Linked DNA regions of Homo sapiens: all the other regions are linked to region 3. Evidence: promoter capture Hi-C in 16 types of primary human blood cells and fetal thymus (Javierre and others, 2016). All regions are on one chromosome and are shown on one strand. The core of a region is centred on a gene start or on the middle of the fragment in contact, and the rest is flanking DNA. Distances in the headings are between cores, read along the strand shown. Region 1 holds the start of SPACA6-AS1 (SPACA6 antisense RNA 1). Region 2 overlaps ETFB (electron transfer flavoprotein subunit beta). Region 3 holds the start of ZNF444 (zinc finger protein 444). Region 4 overlaps ZNF175 (zinc finger protein 175).

The links. Contacts are between HindIII fragments. The CHiCAGO score rates a contact against its expected background, and 5 or more counts as called.
Region 1: a contact is called between a fragment that was not itself captured here and the fragment with the promoter of ZNF444 in region 3, in 1 of 17 cell types (non-activated CD4 T cells). The highest score is 5.8, in non-activated CD4 T cells.
Region 2: a contact is called between a fragment that was not itself captured here and the fragment with the promoter of ZNF444 in region 3, in 1 of 17 cell types (total CD4 T cells). The highest score is 6.1, in total CD4 T cells.
Region 4: a contact is called between a fragment that was not itself captured here and the fragment with the promoter of ZNF444 in region 3, in 2 of 17 cell types (total CD4 T cells and naive CD8 T cells). The highest score is 6.4, in total CD4 T cells.

Annotation. Positions count from the first base shown.
Region 1 is chr19:51,693,429-51,699,247 of GRCh38, forward strand. SPACA6 (sperm acrosome associated 6) reads left to right here. Exons shown (of 9, transcript NM_001316972.2): 1 at 1-312; 2 at 1,050-1,127. The coding sequence starts at 99. It overlaps SPACA6-AS1 (SPACA6 antisense RNA 1), which reads right to left and starts at 28. Exons shown (of 2, transcript NR_108100.1): 1 at 1-28. The HindIII fragment of the contact is 2,015 bases long and covers 250-2,264 here.
Region 2 is chr19:51,357,964-51,363,467 of GRCh38, forward strand. All of the region lies in intron 1 of ETFB (electron transfer flavoprotein subunit beta), which reads right to left. Among named protein-coding and RNA genes, the nearest start is that of ETFB, 5.7 kb to the right of the region's middle. The HindIII fragment of the contact is 200 bases long and covers 1,481-1,680 here.
Region 3 is chr19:56,138,001-56,143,406 of GRCh38, forward strand. ZNF444 (zinc finger protein 444) reads left to right here and starts at 3,287. Exons shown (of 5, transcript NM_018337.4): 1 at 3,287-3,357. RefSeq lists enhancers at 2,750-3,079, 3,110-3,249. The HindIII fragment of the contact is 17,292 bases long and covers 1-5,406 here.
Region 4 is chr19:51,572,204-51,577,470 of GRCh38, forward strand. ZNF175 (zinc finger protein 175) reads left to right here. Exons shown (of 5, transcript NM_007147.4): 2 at 947-1,198. The coding sequence starts at 1,127. Among named protein-coding and RNA genes, the nearest start is that of ZNF175, 3.6 kb to the left of the region's middle. The HindIII fragment of the contact is 1,968 bases long and covers 649-2,616 here.

The DNA.
Region 1 (5,819 bases), core at 7-2,506, 4.4 Mb before region 3:
GAAACCTGACCTCTGACCCCAGACCACTGGCCCTTCCCCCGCCCTGTGGTGACTTCATAAAGGTTACTAGCTTCTCCCCTGGCCTTGAGACCCACACGATGGCCCTGCTGGCTCTGGCCAGTGCCGTCCCGTCTGCCCTGCTGGCCCTGGCTGTCTTCAGGGTGCCCGCCTGGGCCTGTCTCCTCTGCTTCACAACCTACTCTGAGCGCCTCCGCATCTGCCAGATGTTTGTTGGGATGCGGAGCCCCAAGCTTGAAGAGTGTGAGGAGGCCTTCACGGCCGCCTTCCAGGGCCTCTCTGACACCGAAATCAGTGAGGAGACCATCCACACTTCATCAGTGTCCTGGGGAAGGTGCAGAGGGAGGGCAGGAGAGGCCCAGAGGGTCAGGCTGAGGGACAGACAGAGAGAAACAGTCAGAGGAGAAAGGCTCAAAGACCATGAGAACAACAGAGACTTAGGGACAGAGAGACACAGACAGGGGAAGACAGCAGGGCAAAGACTCAGAGAGGGGAGGATGGAGAGTCAGAGAGGGGAAGATGGAGACTCAGAGAGGGGGAGGATGGAGACTCAGAGAGAGAGGAAGATGGAGACTCGGAAAGATGGAGACTCAGGAGTATGGAGAGTCAGAGAGGGGAGGATGGACACTCGGGAGGATGGAGAGTCAGGAGGATGGAGACTCATAGAAAGGGGAGGATGGAGAGTCAGGAGAGGTTGGAGACTGGAGAGGGAATAGAGACCCAGAGAGGGGAGGATGGAGACTCAGAGGGTGGAAGATGGAGACTCAAAGAGGATGGAAACCCAGAGAGAGGAGGACAGAGATGAGGCAGAGACTAGGGGAAGCAGGATAGCGACTGGTCGGGGGCAGAGACTCAGGGAGGATAGAGACTTGGGAGGGACTCAGGAAGCATAGCGACTGTGGGGCAAAGAGTCAGAGAGGGGAGGATACAGACTTGGGAGGGCAGAGACTCAGAAACAGAATGTTCGCATTAGGGACATGGTGTTGCGGGGAGCTGCCTCCCCCAGCCCCTGCTCCCTCCCTCACCGCCAGACTATGATGAGAGAAGCCACCTGCATGACACCTTCACCCAGATGACCCATGCCCTGCAGGAGCTGGCTGCTGCCCAGGGTGAGTGTGTGGGGATGGGGAGATGGGAGATGTGGACTTGGAGCCCCTAAGAAATGGGTATGTGGGAGGGCCCAGGGCAGAGGAAGGAGGCCCCCAGAGTTGGGCAGTGATCCGGGAGGGGAAAGCTGGGAAGACATTGAGCTCAGCTACTTGTCCAAACGAAGGCTGAAGGCAGCTCTAAGAGCCAGGGGCTGAAGGTGGTGAGGGGGAAGGGACGCTGCAGAAATTGCCTAGAGCTGGAAGTCCAGATGGGGTCGGGTAGGCATAGGTTCTGCCATGGCTGCATGGCTCACACTCTTACTGGCTATGAAGTTCTGGGTGTGTCACTGCCCCTCTCCTGGCCTCAACTTACCCATCTGTAAAGTGGGACAATCTTCTTGCCTCCTAGGATGGCCATGGAGCTCAGTGCAGGGGTTGGGGCTGCCTGATGAGCCTGATCTTAGGGAAGGCATCTTCCTCTAGGATAGAACACACACACACTCGCACACAGACACGCTCAGAGACATACACTCACACTCACACACACACACAGATTTCTTATAAAGTGATTCCACATTTTTGAGGTGTGAGGCAATTAGAGGGCGGGAAAACAGGAACAGCAGAGTGGATCACTCAGGTGACAGCAGTGAAAAGAGACAAGGTGTGACTGTCCTGGTGAGACAGGCACATGTGACAGCCTTGAGGTGTGTGGCTGTGCGAAGAGACCTCAGGGCTGGGGGCCACGCAATGCCGATGGGCAGCATGGGCGGTAATCATGCCTGATCACCATGGCCATGATCCCCACGAGGTGCCAGACCCTGGAACTGTGGAGGCTCGGAGTTGCAGGAGTTACAGAGCCCTGCGCTATAGAATAAACTGGCTTCCTCTTAGGTCCAGGAGCTCAGGGCTTATTCCCACACCCACAGTCGCTCCTTTTGCTTCCTGCTTTGCCCTCCAAGCGTCCTGTCAACAATCCCGGAAGAGGGAAGGTTCCCATCCACCCAGGGGGCATCCAGGGCCAGCCTGGAGAAGGCCTCAGCTGTGGCTCTCCCCATCTCCACCCTAAAGGGAGACCTGAGGCCCTAAACCTCTCCATGTGGGGGTGTGCAGGATTCCAAGAAATGCCCTTTCTCCCCACATAGGCTGCCTTGTTACAGAAGCTTTTGAAAAGATGAGGAACCTTTGGATCTGGGAATGGAAGCCTTCTGTGGGGCCGCATGGGGGACAAACTTGGAGGGGAGAGAGAAGAGGCTGGGTGAGGGTCCAGGCCAGAGCGGAGGCCCGAGTGGGGGCTGGGGCCGTGAAGGTGGAGAAGGGCCAGGGCCAGAGAGTTAGGTCTGCTGGGCTGTTTTGGGAAGCATAGAGAACAGCATCTGAGACAGGTCCTGCTCTGTGCCTGTTGGGCGGTGGGTCATCACCGAAATAAGGAGCCTGAGAGAAAGAGCCGGGGGCAGATGATAAGCTGGGTTAGAAGGCAGTGACTTTGAGGGGTCCCAGGGACGTTTAGGAGGCAGCTAGATACCTAGGTGCAGAGTTCAGCAGAAAAGTCAGAGAGTGTTGAGTCTCTTTCCTCAGGGCGCTGGGGAGCTGCAGCAGGAGTGTGAGCAGTGAAGAAGTAGGGGCAGCTCTGGGTGTAGAAAGAACCCTCTGGGGTCGTGTCAAAGATGGACCAGAGGGAGAGTCTGGAGGCCGGGAGAAGCTGGTGCAATACGTTCAATTATACTTACTGAATGTGCCAGGAACAACCGCTGTGACCAAAACTGCAAACCACCTGTCCTCGGGTTGCTTATATTGGGGTGGAGTCTGGGGAGATAGACAATAAACATAATCGATAAAATATCTTAGTATCTTAGTATGTCAGTTGGTGATCCCTGCCATGGAGGAAAACAGAGAAGGGGAAGAGAAAGGGGTGATAGTTTTTTTGTTTTTTTGAGATAGGGTCTCACTTTGTCACCCAGGCTGGATTGCAGTGATGTGATTATACCTCACTACAGCTTCAAACTCCTGGGCTCAAGCGATCTTCCTGCCTCAGCCTCCCAAGTAGCTGGGACTATAGGTGTGCGCCACCATCTTTGGCTAATTTTTTAAATAGTTTGTAATGATGGTGTCTTGTTATGTTGCATGGGTTGGTCTTGAACTCCTGGGCTCAAGTGATCTTCCCACCTCAGCCTCCCAAAGTGCTGGGATTACAGGCATGAACTACCGTACCTGGCTGGGTGATAATTTTAAATAGGTTGGTCAGGGCAGGTGGAAATGACAGGGTCCAGTTGAGCAAAGACCTGAGCAAGGTGACAGTGACAGCGACAGCCATGCAGATAATCTGTGGAAAGAGATTTTCAGGCCACAGGGAATAGCCAGTGCAAGACCCTGGGGCCCGTGGGGCTGGAGTAAAGGTGAAATCAGAGAGATAGCAAGGGGCCACCTCCTGTAGATCCTCATAGACAGGGGGTTCTCAAGCCCCAGCATACATCAGAATCCCCTGGGAGCTTATTTAAAATGCAGATTTCTGGGCTTCACCACCTCTGACCAGGAGGTCCAAGGTAGGGCCCAGACATGGACGTTTCTGTCAAGATCCCAGGGAATGCTGATGCTGCTGCTCCGGGAACACTCTTTGAGAATCACTGTTGTAGGCCCTTGGAATGACTTTTGTTTTTTGCTCTTGAAATGGGGGAGCTGTTGGAGGACTTTACACAGAGAGACAGGATCTGACCTGGGATTTAACAAGATCTCTCTGGCAGCTGTATGGGGCCTGGACAAAGGCAGGAAGACTTCCAGTGAGAAGCCGGCCCATGGTGGCTTGGACCAGTCACAGTGGTCCGGGGGCCCAGATGAGGTCTGAGCAGAGTGGGGTGGGCATAAGGATTTGACCGTGTGCCAGGCTTGCCCATGCGTGCAAAAGGCTGTGTTTGCCATACACAGAGTCATTCATATTAAGTATCTTCCTAAAGGATATCCTCTACCGGCCCTGTGAGGCTGGGTTTTATAGCCCCGCTTATCAGAAGGGAACGCTGGGCTCTTCTGGACAAGAACAGTAGGCCCAGGATATATTTGGAGATAGACTGGACCAGATGTAGGTGGGTGAGGGCAATGGGAAGAATCAAGGATGACTTTTGCGTCTCCTCCAGAGGGAGCAGCAGGGAGATGGAGGAGCTGATGTAGGCTGACTGCCTCTTGGTGATCCCAGGTGATCTTATTTGTATATATGTATATATAAACCATGGAGTAGATGACGTGGTACAGACTGGATGCAGTATTAGGTGTGGAGATTATGTATGCAGCGATTAGGTGTGGAGGCTCTGGAGCCTGACCACCAGGGTCAAATGTAGCCATGTGATTTTGGACCACTTCTCTAATCTCCCCATGCCTCCGTTTCCCCACCTCAAACTTGGAGATGGCAATCCTAAGTTTGCCAGCCTTCTCTAACACTCACTACGTGCTAGGAGCCATTCTACACACTTAGTGACACCATCTCATACAATCATTAAACGATGCCATGGAAGAGTGGGGATGAGGATGCTTTCATGGTTGTATGGCGTCTCATCCTCCCGCTAATTCTGTGATACAGACACTGCTGTCATCCTCATTTGATGAATGAGGAAACTGAGGATCAGGAAGGTGAAGTCACTTGGCCAAGGTCGCATGGGGAGGAGGGCTTGTGATTGATACTCAGATCTGAGACAGGTGTGCTCAAGACGGAAGCACCAGGACTCAGACCCAGATGATCTGAACCAGGGTCAGAGCTCCTGACGATATGCAACTCCTCTGGGGGAGACTTTACAACACCCACCCATGCCGCCTTATGGCCCGCTTGCTATAACCCAGGCCACTTGGCCTGTTCGGAACATTTCACTCCACTTATACTCCCCTGGTGGAGTATAAGCCCACCCGGCCACCATGGCTTACTTGGTATATCCCACGCTCACCCTGCCCATGAGTCATTTGATTTGGCACATAGAAATTCTTTGGATGACTCCTCCAACATCCTGGCCTCTCATTTGTGCACCCCAGTCTGACCACATGCTCCTGATCATCCTGCCATCTTGAGACCACACTCCTGCTCTGTGGCCAAGGAGAGACCACTGGGTCCTCATTTGGAACCCACTTCTGGGCATCAGTGCTTCCTCTCTCCAAGTGTATATCCAGTGATCATTGTTTTAGGCACTTTCTTGCCAATATCCTCAGTTCCCTCCCTTTTTGTATGGCTTTAATCACAGAGGACGCTTTCCCCTGTCCCTGCAATGGCTTTAAGCCCGTAGGAAGTTTAGCTCTCCTATATAAAGTAAGTCTTGTGGTAGGCACTTAAGGCTAATATGGCACCTCCATTTCTTGGGGATCCAAGCTCCTTCAAGACTTAATATCCCAGGGAGTAGCCCTTGTCCTCATGGTCCCGTGTGGCTGCTAGAGCTCCAACCATCAAAACAAATTTTCAGGCAGCAGGATGGATGAGGGGAACAATAAGATGGCACCACCTTCTCTGTCTTTGTTTTTTAGAGACAGGGTCTTGCTCTATTGCCCAGGCTGGGTGGAGGGCAGTGGTGCAATCATAGCTCACTACAGCCTTGAACTCCTGGGCTCAACCATCCTCCCACTTCAGCTTCCTGAGTAGCTAAGACTACAAGCACACCATCACACCTGGCTAATTTATAAAAATTTGTTTAGAGATGGTGTCTGGATATGTTGCCCAGGCTTGTCTCGAACTCCTGGCCTCAAGTG
Region 2 (5,504 bases), core at 331-2,830, 4.8 Mb before region 3:
ACAGGCCATGGTTCGTGATGGGAAGATGACACCAAAAAGGGGCTTCCAGTCAGTACATCAGCCAGAGCCGGGAAGACGGCGAGTTTGGTTTGGGGCACAAATTTTTAAAAAGCCTCCAGGGACATCCACAGAAGCCTTGCTAGGGAGCTGCCCCATTTGGCCTGGAGCCTGCCCTCTTCCTCTTCTCCCATGTGGCCGCCACCCAGGGCTTGGCCAGAGCAGATCTCGGGTGGCAGCTGAGCCTGGTGAGGACACTGGGATGCTCTTGCTATTTCCCTGCCCCTTTTTCTCTGGGGCTGTGGGTGTAACTGTTCCTCCCACAGGCAGGACAGAATCCGAGATGAGAAGGTGGGACCCATAAGGGGCTTCCCACTCTGGCTGTGCCTCATGGAGAGGGTAACATTAAAAGATGGAGGACTGAGACCGGGCGCAGTGGCTCCTGTCTGTAATCCCAGAAATTTGGGAGGCCAAGGTGGGAGGATCACTTGTGCCCAGGAGTTGGATACTAGCCTGGGCAACAGGTTCTACAAACAACAACAACAAAAACAAAAACAGCTGGGCGTGGTGGCTCATGCCTGTAATCCCAGCACTTTGGGAGGCCAAGGTGGGCGGATCACCTGAGGTCAAGAGTTCAAGACCAGCCTGGCCAACATGGCAAAACCCCATCTCTACTAAAAATAAAAATAAAATAAAAAATTAGCCGGGCATGGTAGTGCACGCCTGTAATTGCAGCTACTCAGAGGCTGGGGCAGGGAGAATTGCTTGAACCCAGGAGGTGGAGGTTGTAATGAGCCAAGATTGCGCCACGGCACTCCAGCCTGGGCGACAGAGCAAGACTCCGCCTCAAAACAAACAAACAAACAACAACAAAAAAAAAAAAAAAAAAACAGCCAGGTATGGTGGCACACACCTGTAGTCCCAGCTACTCAGGAGGCTGAGGCGGGAGGATCACCTGAGCCCAGGAGGTCAAGGGTGCAGTGAGCCGTGATCATGCCACTACATGTAACCTGGGTGACAGAGCAAGACCTCATCTCAAAAAAGAAAAAGAAAAAGAAAAAGGAGAAAGAGGAGAAGGAGCTGGAAGAGGAGAGGAAAGAGAAAGAACTGTTATTTTCATCTCTCTCGTTGCCCAGGCTGGAGTGCAGAGGTGCCACCTTGCCTTACTGCAACCTCCACCTCCCGGGCTCAGGTGATCCTCCCACTTCAGCCTCCCCAGTAGCTGGGACCACAGGCGGGCACCATCATGCCGGGCTAATTTTTTTTTTTTTACTTTTTGTAGAGAAAGGATTTCCCCGTGTTTCCCAGGCTGGTCTGGAACTCCTGGCCTAAAGTGATCCGCCTGCTTCAGCCTACCAAAGTGATGGGATTACAGGTGTGAGTCGCAGTGCCTGGCCTTTTTTCTTAAAAAAAAAAACACAACATAGGAGTTGCCCCTTTAAGACAGAAAAGAACCTCATCCACCCATCAGTAAGAGGCCCCAAGCTTCTTGCTGTGAGTCAGGGAGGCTTCTGAAGGGCCTCAAGCCACATCTTGCTCTTGCTCTGGCAGAACTCCCAGCCCTAAGCTCCTGATTCCCAGGCTCCTGACTCCTGAGGAGAAAGGGTAAGAACTTTCCAGACACACACACACACACGCACGCACACACACCTGAGGAAACAAACTAGCTCATCTTCTCAATTAAGCTTGAGTTGATTTTAAGCTTCAAAAACAGTTTAGTTATATTACATAAGTCAGGAAACAATGGTAGGGCTGAAAAATGATAGCTTGTTTGTTTTTTAAATAATGATGGCTCATGCCTGTAATCCCAGCACCTTAGGAGACTGAGGAAGGAGGATCACTGGAGCCCAGGATTTCAAGACCAGCCTGGGCAACATAGAGAGACTTCATCTCTACCAAAAAACAAAATTAGCAGGTCATGGTGGCGTGCACCTGTAGTCCCAGCTACTGAGGAGGCTGAGGTGGGAGGACGGCTTGAACCCAGGAGGGTCGAGGCTGCAGCGAGCTGTGACTGTACCACTCTAGCCTGGGTGACAGAGCTAGACCTTGTCTCAAAAAGAAAAAAAAAAAGTTTTATAATTGAGGTAAATCATTCAGCATTAAGTGCTGGCTTTCTCTTAAAGAGACGACATATCCACCAATATCAAAAACAGCCTCAAAGCTGGGCGTGGCGGCTCACACCTGTAATCCCAGCACTTTGTGGGGCTGAGGTGGGTGGATCACTTGTGGTCAGGAGTTCGAGACCAGCCTGGCCAACATGGTAAAACCCCATCTCTACTAAAAATACAAAAATTAGTCGAGCGTTTTAGCACATGCCTGTAATTCCAGCTAGTTGGGAGGCTGAGGGAGGAGAATCACTTGAACCCGGGAGGTGGAGGTTGCAGTGAGCAGGGATCACATCAATGCACTCCAGCCTGGGTGACAGACCAGATTCTATCTCAAAAAAAAAAAAAGAAAAGAAAAAAAAAATTTTTTTAAAAGCAGCACTGACCCATGCAGACAACGAGTCAAGGGTTTTATATGCATTAACTCGTTTGACCATCCTAGTAGCCTGTGAGGTTGGTTACTGCCATTACCTCTCATTTTACAGATGAGGCAACTGAGGCACAGAGAGGCCAAGTACCTTGGCCAGGGCCACTGAGCATGGAAGTGGCAGGACCACGGGTCTAACCCCAAATCTGTCTTGGGAACTGTGAGACTCTGAAAGAGGCTACGTGTGCCCACGGTGTTAGGAGAGCCAGTCTTCCTATTTGTTGTCCACTGCAGGCAAGAGGGATTTTCTTCTCTTCTCTTTTCTTTCTCTCTTTCTCTCTCTCTCTCTCTCTCTCTTTCTCTTTCTTTTTGATACAGAGTCTTGTTCTGTTGCCCAGGCTGGGGTGCAGTAGTATGATCTTGGCTCACTGCAAACTCCACCTTCTGGGTTCAAGCGATTCTCCTGCCTCAGCCTCCCCAGTAGCTGGGACTACAGGCGCCTGCCACCACGCCTGGCTAATTTTTTGTATTTTTAGTAGAGACAAGGTCTCACCGTGTTAGCCAGGATGGTCTCAATCTCCTAACCTTGTGATCCACCCGCCTCAGCCTCCCAAAGTGCTGAGATTACACGTGTGGGCCACCGCGCCCGGCCCACGCCTGGCTAATTTTTTTATTTTTAGTAGAGATGGGGTTTCGTCATGTTGGCCAGGCTGGTCTCGAACTCCTGACCTCAGGTGATCCGCCCACCTCGGCCTCCCAAAATGCTGGAATTACAGGTGTGAGCCACCACGCCCGGCCCAAGAGGGATTTTATAAAGTGATTTTCGACAGCTCTTCCTGAACCCCTGACACAGCTCAAGGACTTGTGTGGTTCTGTCCTCTAGGCTTTTCTGTCAAGCGAGTCCCTGGGCACGTGCTAGGGCACTCAGCAAGCAGGACAGCCAAGGCCAGGGAGCCACCCCAGTGACAGATCACTAACTCGGCGGGGGGCAGACAGAGAACTCGTCCCTGAGGTGACATGTGAGCCCCACGTGTGCCCTGTCAGACAAGGTGGCCTTGCTGAGAGCAGGAGGGGCAAGTGCGTGGAGCCCAAAGAGGAAAACCTGAAGAAACACCAGGCGCTCCCAGACGAGAGGGTGTGGCTGGTCGGGGTTGGGCCCCGAGATGGAAACACGTTTTCTGGGCCTGGAGTTTCTATCCTGTGGGGTCATCTCTAAGAAAATGAATCCCAGATAATGAATACAAAATTGCCCAGCCTCTCCTGGGTTTTTTTTTTTTTTTTTTTTTTTGTGAGACGGAGTCTCCCTCTGTCACCCAGGCTGGAGTGCAGTGGCACGATCTCGGTTCACTGCAACCTCCGCCTCCCTGGTTCAAGCGATTCTTCTGCCTCAGCCCCCCGAGTAGCTGGGACTACGGGCACGCGCCGCCATGCCCAGCTAATTTTTGTATTTTTAGTAGAGACAGAGTTTCACTCTGTTGGCTAGGATGGTCTTGAACTCCTGACCTCGTGATCCACCCACCTCAGCCTCCCAAAGTGTGTGTTTACAGGCGTGAGCCACCAGGCCCAGCCTTTCTCCTGGGGTCTTGAAAGAGGCCCTGAAGGTTAAGCTTCATCAGCTTCCTGTAAAATGTGCCCCTGAACAGGACAGGGTGTTACTGAGTTGCCAAATACCTATTAAAATGTTAGATACACGCACATACCCAGAAACATACACACAGCCGGACACACATACACACACACACACACACACACACACACACACACACACACACGAATACACTCTGAGCACAGCATTTGTTATGTTTTGAATAAATGACTAACTAAACATCCATTACTACTACTCCCAATAAAAACACTTATTGCAGCTGGTCACAGTGGCTCACACCTGTAATCCCAGCACGTTGGGAGGCTGAGGCGGGTGGATTACCTGAGGTCAGGAGGTCTAGACCAGCCTGGCTAACATAGCAAAACCTCGTTTCTACTAAAAATACAAAAATTAGCCAGGCGTGGTGGCTCACACGTGTAATCCCAGCTACTCAGGAGGCTGAGGCAGAGTTGCTTGAACCTGGGAAGTGGAGGTTCCAGTGAGCTGAGATCATGCCACTGCACTCCAGCCTGGGCAACAGAGATAGACTCCGTCTCAAAAAATAAAACAAAACAAACCACTGTGTGCCAGGCACTGTTCCAAGGGCTTATTTAATTTTCATTACAACTCAATAAAGTAGATAGTACCATCATCCCCATTGTACAGAGTAGAAAAATGAGGCTTAGAGTGGTGAAGCAATTTCCTCAAGGTCACACAGCAGGAAGTGGACGCAGGCGCTGGGCTTGGAGTCTGAGGTCTGCACTATTCTAGTAGTGAACCCACTGTCTCAGGAAGCAGTGACCACATCAAACTGTCTCCCCCACACCTGGAGCTCAAATTCCAGAAGGGGCGACAGACACCAGAGCAATCAATAAGTAAACAACACTGTGGATTACAAAGTGTCCACACCAGCTTCCCTCTGGGGACAAGCTGGGCTCTCAGAGGGTGCCCCTGCTCCCACCTCCTTCATGGAGAATGTGAGTCACTCCCTCCACTCAGTTAGGTTGGCTCCTTGAACTTTCATCTCTAGCAAACATACTTTCCTCTCCCTTTCTAGTTGCTAAGTATAGGGGAAAACACAGCAAAACACAGGGACCTGGGGCCTGTGATTTTAAGGAGGCAAGCAGGGAAGTCCTCCCAGAGAAGGTGATGTTTGAAAAGGAGGTGAAAGAGGTCAGGGAGTGAGCACGTGATTCTGGGAACAGAGGTGGATCAGACATGGCCCCTCTCTGCAGGGAGCTACCAGCCTGGGGATGATGGAGTAGGGCAGTGGGGAACATGGGGTAAACAGAGGATCCCAATCCAGTCTGGCGAGGGCTGATGGAAGCAAATCTAGGGACTGCAGAAGCCCCCAGGGATATACCAAGGCAACCTGAGGGTGTAGGGTCAGGGGCTTCCTGGAGGAGGCGATGCCAGGGAGAATCACTAAATTATTATTATTATTATTTTG
Region 3 (5,406 bases), core at 2,037-4,536:
GTAATCCCAGCTACTTAGGAGGCTGAGGTAGGAGAATCGCTTGAACCCTCGAGGTGGAGGTTGCAGTGAGCTGAGATGGAACCATTGCACTCCAGCCTGGGTGACGAGAAGGAAAACTCCATCTTAAAAAACAAAATTCCTCTGATAAATGGGTAAACAAAATATGGTCTGTGTATGCAACAGAATATTAGGCAATCTTTAAAAGGAAGGAGATTTTGACATACACTACAACATGGATTAACCTTGAGGACATTCTGCCAAGTTAAATAAGTCAGTCACAAAAAACAAATACGGTATGATTCCACTTACATGAAGTATTAATGTGGTCAAAATCACAGAAACTGGGCTGGGCATGGTGGCTCACACCTGTAATCCCAACACTTTGGGAGGCTGAGGCAGGTGGATCACTTGAGACCAGGAGTTTAAACCCAGCCTGGGTAACATGGCAAAACGCTGTCCCTACAAAAAAAAGAAAAAAAAAAATTAGCTGGGCGTGGTTGTGTGCACCTGTAGTCTCAGCTACTCGGGAGGCCAATGTGGGAGAATCCCTTGAGCCTGGGAAGCAGAAGTCACAGTGAGCCAAGACTGAGCCACTGGACTCCAGTCTGGCCAACAGATTCAGACCCTGTCTCAAATAAATAAATTACAGAAACTGATAACAGAATGGTGGTTGGCCAGGAGCTCGGGGGAGAGAGGAATGGGTGGTTCACATTTAATGGGTACAATTTCAATTTGGGAAGATGAAAAATTCGGGAAATGGACAGTAGTGATGATTGCACAGCTTGAATGTACTTTTTTTTTTTTTTTTTTTTTTGAGACAGAGTCTGACTCTGTTGCCCGGACTGAAGTGCAGCGGTGCAATCTTAGCTCACTGCAACCTCCACCTTCCAGGTTCAAGAGATTCTCTGGCCTCACCCTCCCGAGTAGCTGGGATTACAGGTGCCCGCCACCATGCCCAGCTAATTTTTGTATTTTTAGTAGAGACGGGGTTTCACCATGTTGGCCAGGGTGGTCTCGAACTCCTAACTTCTGATCCGCACGCCTCGGTCTCCCAAAGTGCTGGGATTACAGGCGTGAGCCACCACACCCGGCCTAGCTTGAATGTACTTAATGCTACTGAACTGTACCTTAAAAATGATTAAGATGGTAATTTTTATCTTGTATATATTTTACCACAATTAAAAAAAAAAGATCCCTTTGGCGCTGTGTGGAGCAGGAACTGAGGGGCAGGAGGCAGAAGAGGCGAGAGTGGAAGCATGACAGTGTCTAAAGAGGCCATGGGGACTTAAACCAGGTGGTAGCCATAGACGGGAGAGCTGTGGACAGATTCTGCATCTATTTTGAAGACAGAGCCAATAGGACCTGATGATAGATTGCATGTGGATGGTGATGAAAAAGAGGAATTGGCTGGGCATGGTGGTTCACGCTTGCAATCACAGCATTTTGGGAGGCCGAGGAGGCAGATCACTTGAGGCCAGGAGTTCGAGACCAGCCTGGCCAACATGGCAAACCCCATCTCTATTAAAAATACAAAAATTAGCTGGGCATGGTGGTGCACGCCTGTAGTCCTGGCTACTCAGGAGGATGCAGCATGAGAATCACTTGAGACTGGGAGTCGGAGGTTGCAGTGAGCTGTGATCGCACCACTGCACTCCAGCCTGGGCAACACAGCCAGACCCTGTATCAAAAAACAAAACAAAACAAAACAAAAAACCAAAAAAAAAAAAAGAAAAAAGAATCAAGGGCTGCTTTTCTATTTTTGGCCTCAACATTTGGGTGAAGATGGACTTGCTTTCTAAGATGGTGGAGTAATGGGAAGGAACAAATTTCTTCGCAAGGTGGGGGAGAGAGTGAAAAATTATCTACTGCCCACCTTAGGTTTGAGATGCCTATTAAGAAATCCAAGAGGAGATGTCAAGTAGGCCATCGGATATGAGTGGGAAGAAGATCAGCGTGCTCTAGGAGCAGAAAGGAGGCATGACTGGAACTCATTAAACACGAGGAGAAGACAGTGGTAGACAGGTGGGCCAGGGCAGATTAGGCCACCGTGGGCAAACTGGTCACAAAGTTCTGAGTCAGCCACTCATCGCTTGTGAAACCTGGGGAAAGTTGTTCATTTATGAATATAAGACGAACAACTTCCATGTAATGAATGCTTGTTATGGGTAAGCCACTGTCTTCGTTTTTATGGCGCGGAGTCTTCAGATCAGCCGGGGAGGTGGAGGATGGGAGGGGGATTCTCTTATCCTTGTTGTACGGAGGAGGAAATACGCTGCGGGCTGGGGTAGGGCTTGTATGAGCCATAATCAGGTCTGGAACTGTCTAGATAAAAACTTCAGCTGATCTCTTAGGATGTCTGTCTGCTCTAAAATCCAAATATGCTTCTTCACAGTTCTGAGATGCAGAAACTGAGGCCTCAGGACGGGGCAGTAGTCTGTCCAATAGGGGCACAGCGAGGACGCGTGGCAGGTAGCGCTGTCCCCCAATTCACCCCAGGGGAAACTGAGGCTAAAGAGAGGGCGGTGTCCTGTCCAGGTTCACACACAGGAAGAGCCAAACCGAGGCCCCCGCGCTGGCCCCCTCCTGAGCCACTGCCCACCCCGGAACAGGAGGGCAGCCTGCTCACGTCCTGATTCCTGGCACCGACATCGGCCCTTAAGTTCTGCCCGGGTGGAGAGGGAGGACAAAAAAAAATGCGATCCGTAGTCAAGGAGACGTAGCCTGCACTCCTGATTGGCGCAGAACTCTAGCCTGGTCTCCTCCTCCTCCTCCTCTTCGCTTGCCAGCTTCTAGAGCTCCGGAGGCCCCACCTCCCAAATGCCCGGCGGTGCCCGGCCTCCCCTGATCTCCACAACAACGCCGCCATGGCTCCTCCTCCTCCTCCCTCTTTTTTTCCCGGCACTTCTGCGCATGTCCAGGGCCCGCGCGCAGACCACTGGGAAGCCTCCTCGTGCATTCTGGGAAATGTAGTCCAAAGCCTGTCGCGCTCAGACAGCCCGCGACATTTGCGCCGTCAAGGCCAAATAGGCTGCAGACGACGCTTTCGCGTATCTTGGGAAATGTAGTTCCAGTGTTGGCGAAGACGCCACGCGGTGACAAACAGGAGTAAGGCGGTCCCCAGGCGAGGGCCAATTGGCAGCCGCCTTTGCCGCGATGCTTCCTGGGAGTTGTAGTTCGGGGTGAGGCCGGGGCTTCATGGGGAGTTGTTGGGCTGAACGAGCGGCTCGGAGTATGGGATTGGGGGAGGGGGACGGGGGAGTTTGGCGCAAAGCCTGCTGGGGCATGGAGTCCCGGCGAGCTTTGTGCGCATGTGCGGGGAGGTGAGGGGGCTTGGGGGGCCTCGCCTGAGAGAGTGAGGTGAGCGAGGGGGGAAGGAGGGAGGGATTGGGTGGGGGCGGTTGGACGAGGGAGGGACCAGAGGTTGGATGGGAAGAGGGGCGCCGGGGGCCTCAGGAGGGAAAGATGGGAGACTTGCGGGGAGGGGAGGAGAAGGGGGCTGAGTGATGGGGAAGGGGCTGGGAGAGGGAACTAGAGGGGGAGGGACTTGGAGAGGGGGAGGGGTGGATAGTGGGAGGGGGTCGTGGATCCTCGAGGTCCTGAACGCGGGAGAGAAATGCTGAGGGAGAGGACGGGGGAGGGGCGCCTGGGGGAGGGGGAGGGGCGGGACGGGGGAGGGACAGGTGGGGGAGGGGAAGGGGACCCTAGCAGAGGGTGGGCTGTGAGATGAAAGCTGAGTGGGAAGCTGGACCCTACAAAGGAGTCTGGGGGCGCCGGGACCGGACCCCTTCGGAAAGGTTTGCGGGAAGGGGCTTCCGGGGACGATGGTTATTGTTGTAACGTAGATACGGCGCAGGTGGCTCGTTTTGCGCGCTGCTTCTACAAGTGCAACTTTTACAGAGTTGTGAGATTCCTGAAGATAAGAATCGTTGCTCTGTTTTGCTGCTTTCTCAGTGCGGAGCATCTGCCTTTTTAGCTTGTTGCAAGGCATTATTACCTTCGGTAATATGTGTAAAGTGCTTAGAAACTCTGTTTATTGTCAAATGAAGTTGACCCCCGCCACCTCTACCCCAGTCAGGATGGAGTCACCCTCCTCTATATCCGATTTTAACGCCTATTCCAATGTATACTTAGTATTTTAATCTGCGTGCGTGTTCATAGCAGTGTCCCCTGGGCACCTCGCAGGGAAACTTCGACAAAGTAACCCTAAGTCTGACTGGACACTTACTAGCCAGGTGTGGTTCTCAGCATTTTTGTTCTCCTTCTATCACTTTACAGTCAACGAAATGGAGATACAGGGTATTACAAAAGGTGCCTTGTACCTCGTCCAAGGACACAGAGCTGGTAGGAGGCAGAGCTGGAATTTGCCCCAGAGCCTTTGTGCCGTAGGTAAATATTTGTCCAGTGGGCCAGCGGCTCTCAACCAGGAGTGGTTTTGTCCCCCAGGGGACATGTGGCAATGTCTGGAGACTTTTTTTTTGGTTTTTCCAACTTGGGAAGTGCTACTGGCATCTCATGAAAAGAGGCAGAGATGCTGGTAGACATCGTATGTTGCACAGGATAGCCCGCCACGACACAAGTGCCATTAATGTCGAGGTTGGGAACCTAGAGTAGACAAACCGGTCTTTGTCGAGCACTTAGCCTTTGGAGGCTGCTTCTAACTCCTGCTCCCAGCAGCCTCTTGAGAGGAAGGAGCTCTTGTTAGTCCTGTGTCTCAGGTGGAGAAATGAAGCACAGAGGGGGTAAGTCACACGTCCACAGTCACACTGCTGATGAGTGGCAGAGCTGGAAGTTGAAGCCAGGCAGCCAGACTCCACAGCCTCTTAGCCATGATATTAACCCAGCATATGTGGGTGCTGGTGCCGGGGTACTAGGTGGAACTGGTGTGGACTCTGGAGTCACATCTGGGTCCCATTTGTGGCTCCTTCACTCTCTGAGCATCTCCCTATGGTAAGAGGGGACCCATCTCCCCAGCTCACAGGTCTGTTGGGAAGGTTGGGTGGGGCAGTATAAGACACTAGCCACTCAGTGGCTGTCTTCAAGGCATCCAGGGTGCCTGGCTCTGGACTGGACTGTGCTTTGCGGACACAGACAGCTAGACAGCAGGGTTACAGCTGTTGAATGCACATAGCACAGGGCGCTCATTGGATGGTAGGGTGGATTGACATGGTGGAAGGCCCTTACTTAACAGCATGTGCTTTCTTGGGAGCAGGCCTTGTGCTGGATGGCCCCACCGACCCAGTGAAGAGCTGGACTTGGTCACTGCCCCAGAGAGCTCACTTTCTGGACAGCCCAGGGTGTAGTGACCTGTGATCACCTCTGAGATTGCAAACAGGGTCAGCTTGATGGCCTGTGGCATTGCTCTCTGGCGGAAATTCCTCCTTAGTCCCAGAGGGATCTTTTTTATAG
Region 4 (5,267 bases), core at 383-2,882, 4.6 Mb before region 3:
GGGCAGTAAAGATTTCAGAAGCCTGTGCCATGTCAGTGACTGGGAGGCATTTTGGAACTTTCTGGCAGCCCTGTAGTACACTCATTGGGGATTTCTGAAAGTCAGTCCTGTCAGTGATTGCATTCAGGTGCGGTGGGGGCAACTTATTGTGGACAGGCAAGAAATGGTAACTGGAGGCCCTGATGCATGTCTGCAAATTTTCTGTGTCAAGATGGGGATTGGGACAGTGATTTTAAGTTTTAGCTCTAGTCAGAAGAGGCTGGTCTGTGTGTGGTGTATTATGGACGGGGACTGAAAAGTCCAGAAGCTCAGAATAGGTACACCAGACAGAGCCACCTCCCGGCCTGAGTTCTATGAAGGCAACAGAAAGAGGAAATGGTGTTTCTGGAAGCTGGCCACGTATGGGTACATGAGATAGTGGAGACAGTGTACAGTTTAGAACAAGGCAGATGTGGGGCTGATTCCCTGTTTTTCCATTTACAGACTGAGTAACCTTCAGGCAAATTATGTAACAGCACACAGCCTCATTATCCTCATCCTCAAAATGGGTATGATAATGCCCATGATATTTAGCTGACAATTAAATTGACAACTTTCTTTTTTTAATTCATATTTATCACGTGCCAGGCAGGCACTGAGGACTTGACAAGCTTCATCTTGGTTAAGTTTCCCAACATCTGTGATAAATACCTGCATTTTCATTTTGGAAACTACAACTAAAGTAATATTTTCATATTCTCACAGTGAAAATGTGGCAAAGCTGCAATGAATTCACCATTTAGTCCAGACTCAGTCTTTATTTTTAACCCTGACTAATAACTAGAGTTGGGCTTTCTGAACTTTGTCTACTCCAATGTCTGACACAGTGACTTCACCTCAGTGCCCTCAGGAAATATTTGTGGAGTGAATGTTGAATGAGTGACCATGTACTCATTGCTTTTCCAAGGCTTCTGCAGAACCCCCAGGTCAGGCCACATCATTGAGGCTGCAGGATCTCTCTTCATAGCCCAGTACGACTCTCCGCCGTGTCCCTGGTTGGAAAATCCAAACACCTATCCAGCTTCTGGCTCCTGGGAAAAGTGGAGTTGTCAGCAAGAGAGACCGAGAGTAGAAGCCCAGAGTGGAGATGCCTGCTGATGTGAATTTATCCCAGAAGCCTCAGGTCCTGGGTCCAGAGAAGCAGGATGGATCTTGCGAGGTAAACAGGGGCAGCCCTGGGGATAGTTCTCCAGAACGTGAGGGCAGACACAGGATGCAGCAGGTCTGGGCTCCCTGCTCCTGAGTCAGTCTTGAGCCTCCTGTCAAGCGAGGACCACAGAGGCTGATGTTTCCACATTCATAGGCTATCTGTGTTCTAGAGGAAACCATGAACTGGCTGATAAAAGAGGATAGTAGAGGGTTGGCCTTGGGTCAAGAAAGAAGAAACTGTAGTCCCTGGTCTGATCAGAAGCCCCAGTCATAGGATGGAAAAGCTGACTCTTTCCTGCTAAGCACTGGTTCTGCTCCTTCATCCACCACTGGGTCTTTGAAAAATTTCAAGTGGTCCCCCCCACCAAATTCCTTGCTTGGTCCATGGGGTTTGGCCCGTTTTTCCTCTGTTCTCATAAGGTGCGGCAAAATCTCCTTCCTTTGTAATTTAAATAGTCACAGGGAGGTAGAGTGAGAAGAGGCTTTTAAGGACCATGTGAAGAGGCTTTTAAACACTTTTTCCTGTTTAAAAAGGTGAACAAAAAATGCTGGAAAACAGTGTTTCCAGATTGCCCACAGATAGAAATAGTCAGGATTTGGTAACAAGAAATCAGAATTCTTGGTATAGTCAAGATTTCCTGAAATCCTAAATTATTCTGTGTATCTCTTGATGCTTTATTTACAAGTCTTTAAATAGTATGTGACTATAATAGTAAACAGTGTACCATTGTTCTGTGATGGGTTTATAACCAAATTTACAGAGATGTTCTGTTTTTTAAAAAAAGTATAATAAATATGTGTGTTATTATCCTGAACCAATATATTGTGAGATTATATATTTCAGTAACCTGTTAAAATCATCTCAACCTGCTAGAAACATTTGATAATAGAAAGTATTAAAAGAAGGGAACATTAACACAAAATAAATTGCACATATAAATCATTTTCAAAATTGTAAATACCCCAAATATTTAAAAGTCGTTCTTAAAAGAAAAATTGAAACATACAAGTTTAGGTGGGGCACAGTGGCTCATGCACTTTGGGAGGCCGAGGCGGGCGGATCACTTGAGCCCAGGAGTTGGAGACCAGCCTGGGCAACATGGCGAGACTCTACAAAAATACAAAAATTAGCCAGGTGTGGTGGCATGCACCTGTAGTCCCAGCTACTGAGTACGTTGACGTGGGAGGATCACCTGAGCTTGAGGCGGTCAAGGTTGCAGTGAGCTGCAATCATGACACTACACTCCAGCCTGGGCAATAGAGTGAGACCCTGTCTCAAAACAAAACAAGTTTAAAACATGAAATTGTCTAAGTCTTTGTGACAGCAGTGCAGATGCACAAACGTTTCTCTCATTTGCATTGATGTTGGTCAACTTGCGTGTTCAGAACATCTTCAAGTTTAGCGTTTTAGGACACATGTTCAATATAAGCTTTTTTCCTTTTTTAACAATGAAATTTTTTTTCTGCTTGACCTGATTTCCAGTTTATCATTTGAATCAATACTGCTGTCGCTAATTCAGATTTTCCATCAGTGTCTGAATTCATGTCAGAGTATATCCCAGTACCATGCACATTATCTTCTCTTTGTGGTGTGTATTTCCCTCTGCTCTGGACAGTACTATTTTTATTTTGTTATTTTTATCTTTTCTAATGTGATGGAAATAAAGATAGTATAGTGTTTTAATTTGCATTACTTTGTTTACAAACAGGCTTTTTTTTCATAATTTTATTGGTCAATTACTTGTCTTTAGTGAGTTACTTTTTCTTACCTTTTGATTTATATTTTGGTTTGGTTTAGCCTCCGGATTTTTAGAGAGGTTTTTTTTTTTTTTTTTTTTTTTTTGAGACGGAGTCTCGCTCTGAAGCGCAGGCTGGAGTGCAGTGGCGCAATCTCTGCTCACTGCAAGCTGCACCTCCCGGGTTAACGCCGTTCTCCTGCCTTAGCCTCCTGAATAGCTGGGAGTACAGGCGCCTGACAGCACTGCTGGCTAATTTTTTTGTATTTTTAGTAGAGATGAGGTTTCACCATGTTAGCCAAGATGGTCTTGATCTCCTGACCTCGTGATCCGCCTGCCTCAGTGTCCCAAGAGAGTTCTTACACAGTAATAACCTAAGGTCCTTTTTGCATATGTTTGTAAATACTTTTTGTTACTTTTTCCTTTGAAAGTAGGTTTTAGTTTTGTTTGAACATAGGAAAGAGGATCAGATGGTTTTGTGAAGCCTGTAATCTTTTAAAAGGGCTGTCACTTGCTATATTTTTACCAAAGTTCCAGCTCCTCCCAGGCAATCACATTTTACATTTTTAGCTAATTATTTTGGCATTTACCTCCTAATCTTTTAGTGACATGCTTATATTGCTGCCTCTTGGATTGTTAATTAACACGTTAATTAATTAAGAAACATGTCATTAAAAGGTTTGCTTTTACCCGCTTCCTCATACTTTCACCCCCAACACCTGCTTTCCTTGCCCATCCTTCTCTAGAACTGGTTCAGATTCTGATCAGGTCAATCTTCCTTGTTTGTGATTATGACTGTGTAAACTATATTCAGAGCTGCCTGTATAGACACCCTGATAACTCTCTGCCTGCATAACTTACGGTTTTTCCCTGGAGCACACAATTTTATGGATTATTTACTTGCCTATATACATGTTAATGTATTATACCATTTTCTCCAAGTGTGTACACACTGTCTTCATAAATTGAATTTGTTACTAGGTAATTGCAAACCCTCGCTATTTCAGGGACAGTTTTTTTTTTTGTTTTTTTTTTTTTTTGAGACAGAGTTTCGCTCTTGTCTCCCAGGCTGGAGTGCAATGGCGCGATCTTGGCTCACTGCAACCTCTCCTCCTGGGTTCAAGCCATTCTCCTGCCTCACTCTCCTGAGTAGCTGGGATTACAGGCACTTGCCACCACGCCTGGCTAATTTTTATATTTTTAGTAGAAACAGGGTTTCACCATGTTGGGCAGGCTGGTCTCAAACTCCTGACTTCAGGTGATCCGCCAGCCTCGGCCTCCCAAAGTGCTGGGATTACAGGCATGAGCCACCACACCCGGCCTTCAGGAACAGTTTTAATCCTCATAACTTTGCGAGGTACTGCTGCCATTATCCCCCCTTTACAGACAAGAAGACTGAGGCACAGAATGAAATAAGTGGCTCAAGTTTACATAGTCAGCAAGCAGCCAGCCTGGGATTGAAGGCAGGCAGTTTGCTTGAGGGTTGGGGCTGTCAATGCCATCTCCTTGAGGAAACCTTTCCTATTGCTTTTTTGTCTTGATGCGATTGGACCTGGCTGTTCTCCTGGCGCCTCACGCTGTCTTCTCATGGTGCTGTGTTCACCATCACCTGGGAATTCTTTTTTTCTCTGTCAAGTGTCCAGTTCCTTGTGTCTTGAATCCTTTCTTGAATCCTTTGGCTTTCTCTTCCACGGTTTACCGTTACTCTCATTTCGTGAAAGTGCATCCCCTAGGAGTTCTTGGGGACGGTACACGGCAGTAAATCCTGTGAGAACTTATCTGAACATGTCTGTTCAGATAACGGAGACTAAACTTAAGAATAGGAGAATCACTTGACCCAGGAGGTTGAGGCTGCAGTGAGCTGTGATGGCACCACTGCACTCCATCCTGGGTGACAGAGTGACATCCTGTCTCAAAAAACAAAAACGAAAACAAAAGACCTGAGAGGTTTACATATATGAGCATGACATGAAAGTGAAATGATATGAAAATGAATGATATGAAAATGTCACGCCAAAAAGCAAAGATCATATATTTGCATATTTAATAGAAAGATGTCACGGAAAATGACTTGATTTACCCTCACACTAAGTTGATCTTTGCCTGGGTTCATAGGTTGGAAATCATTTTTTTCTTCCTAAAACACCCCATATACTACTTCCTTACCACACACATATAGTCTCTCTGCTCTCAAATCCTGAAACTCTTTATTTTTAAGCTGTTAGTCTCCATTTAAAAGGGTTTTTATGCTCTGTCATTTTCTATTTCTTTGGTTTTGGACCCTCTTTCTGGAAGAATTTCTCAACTTTATTTTCTAGCCCTCCGATAATCATTACTGCCTTA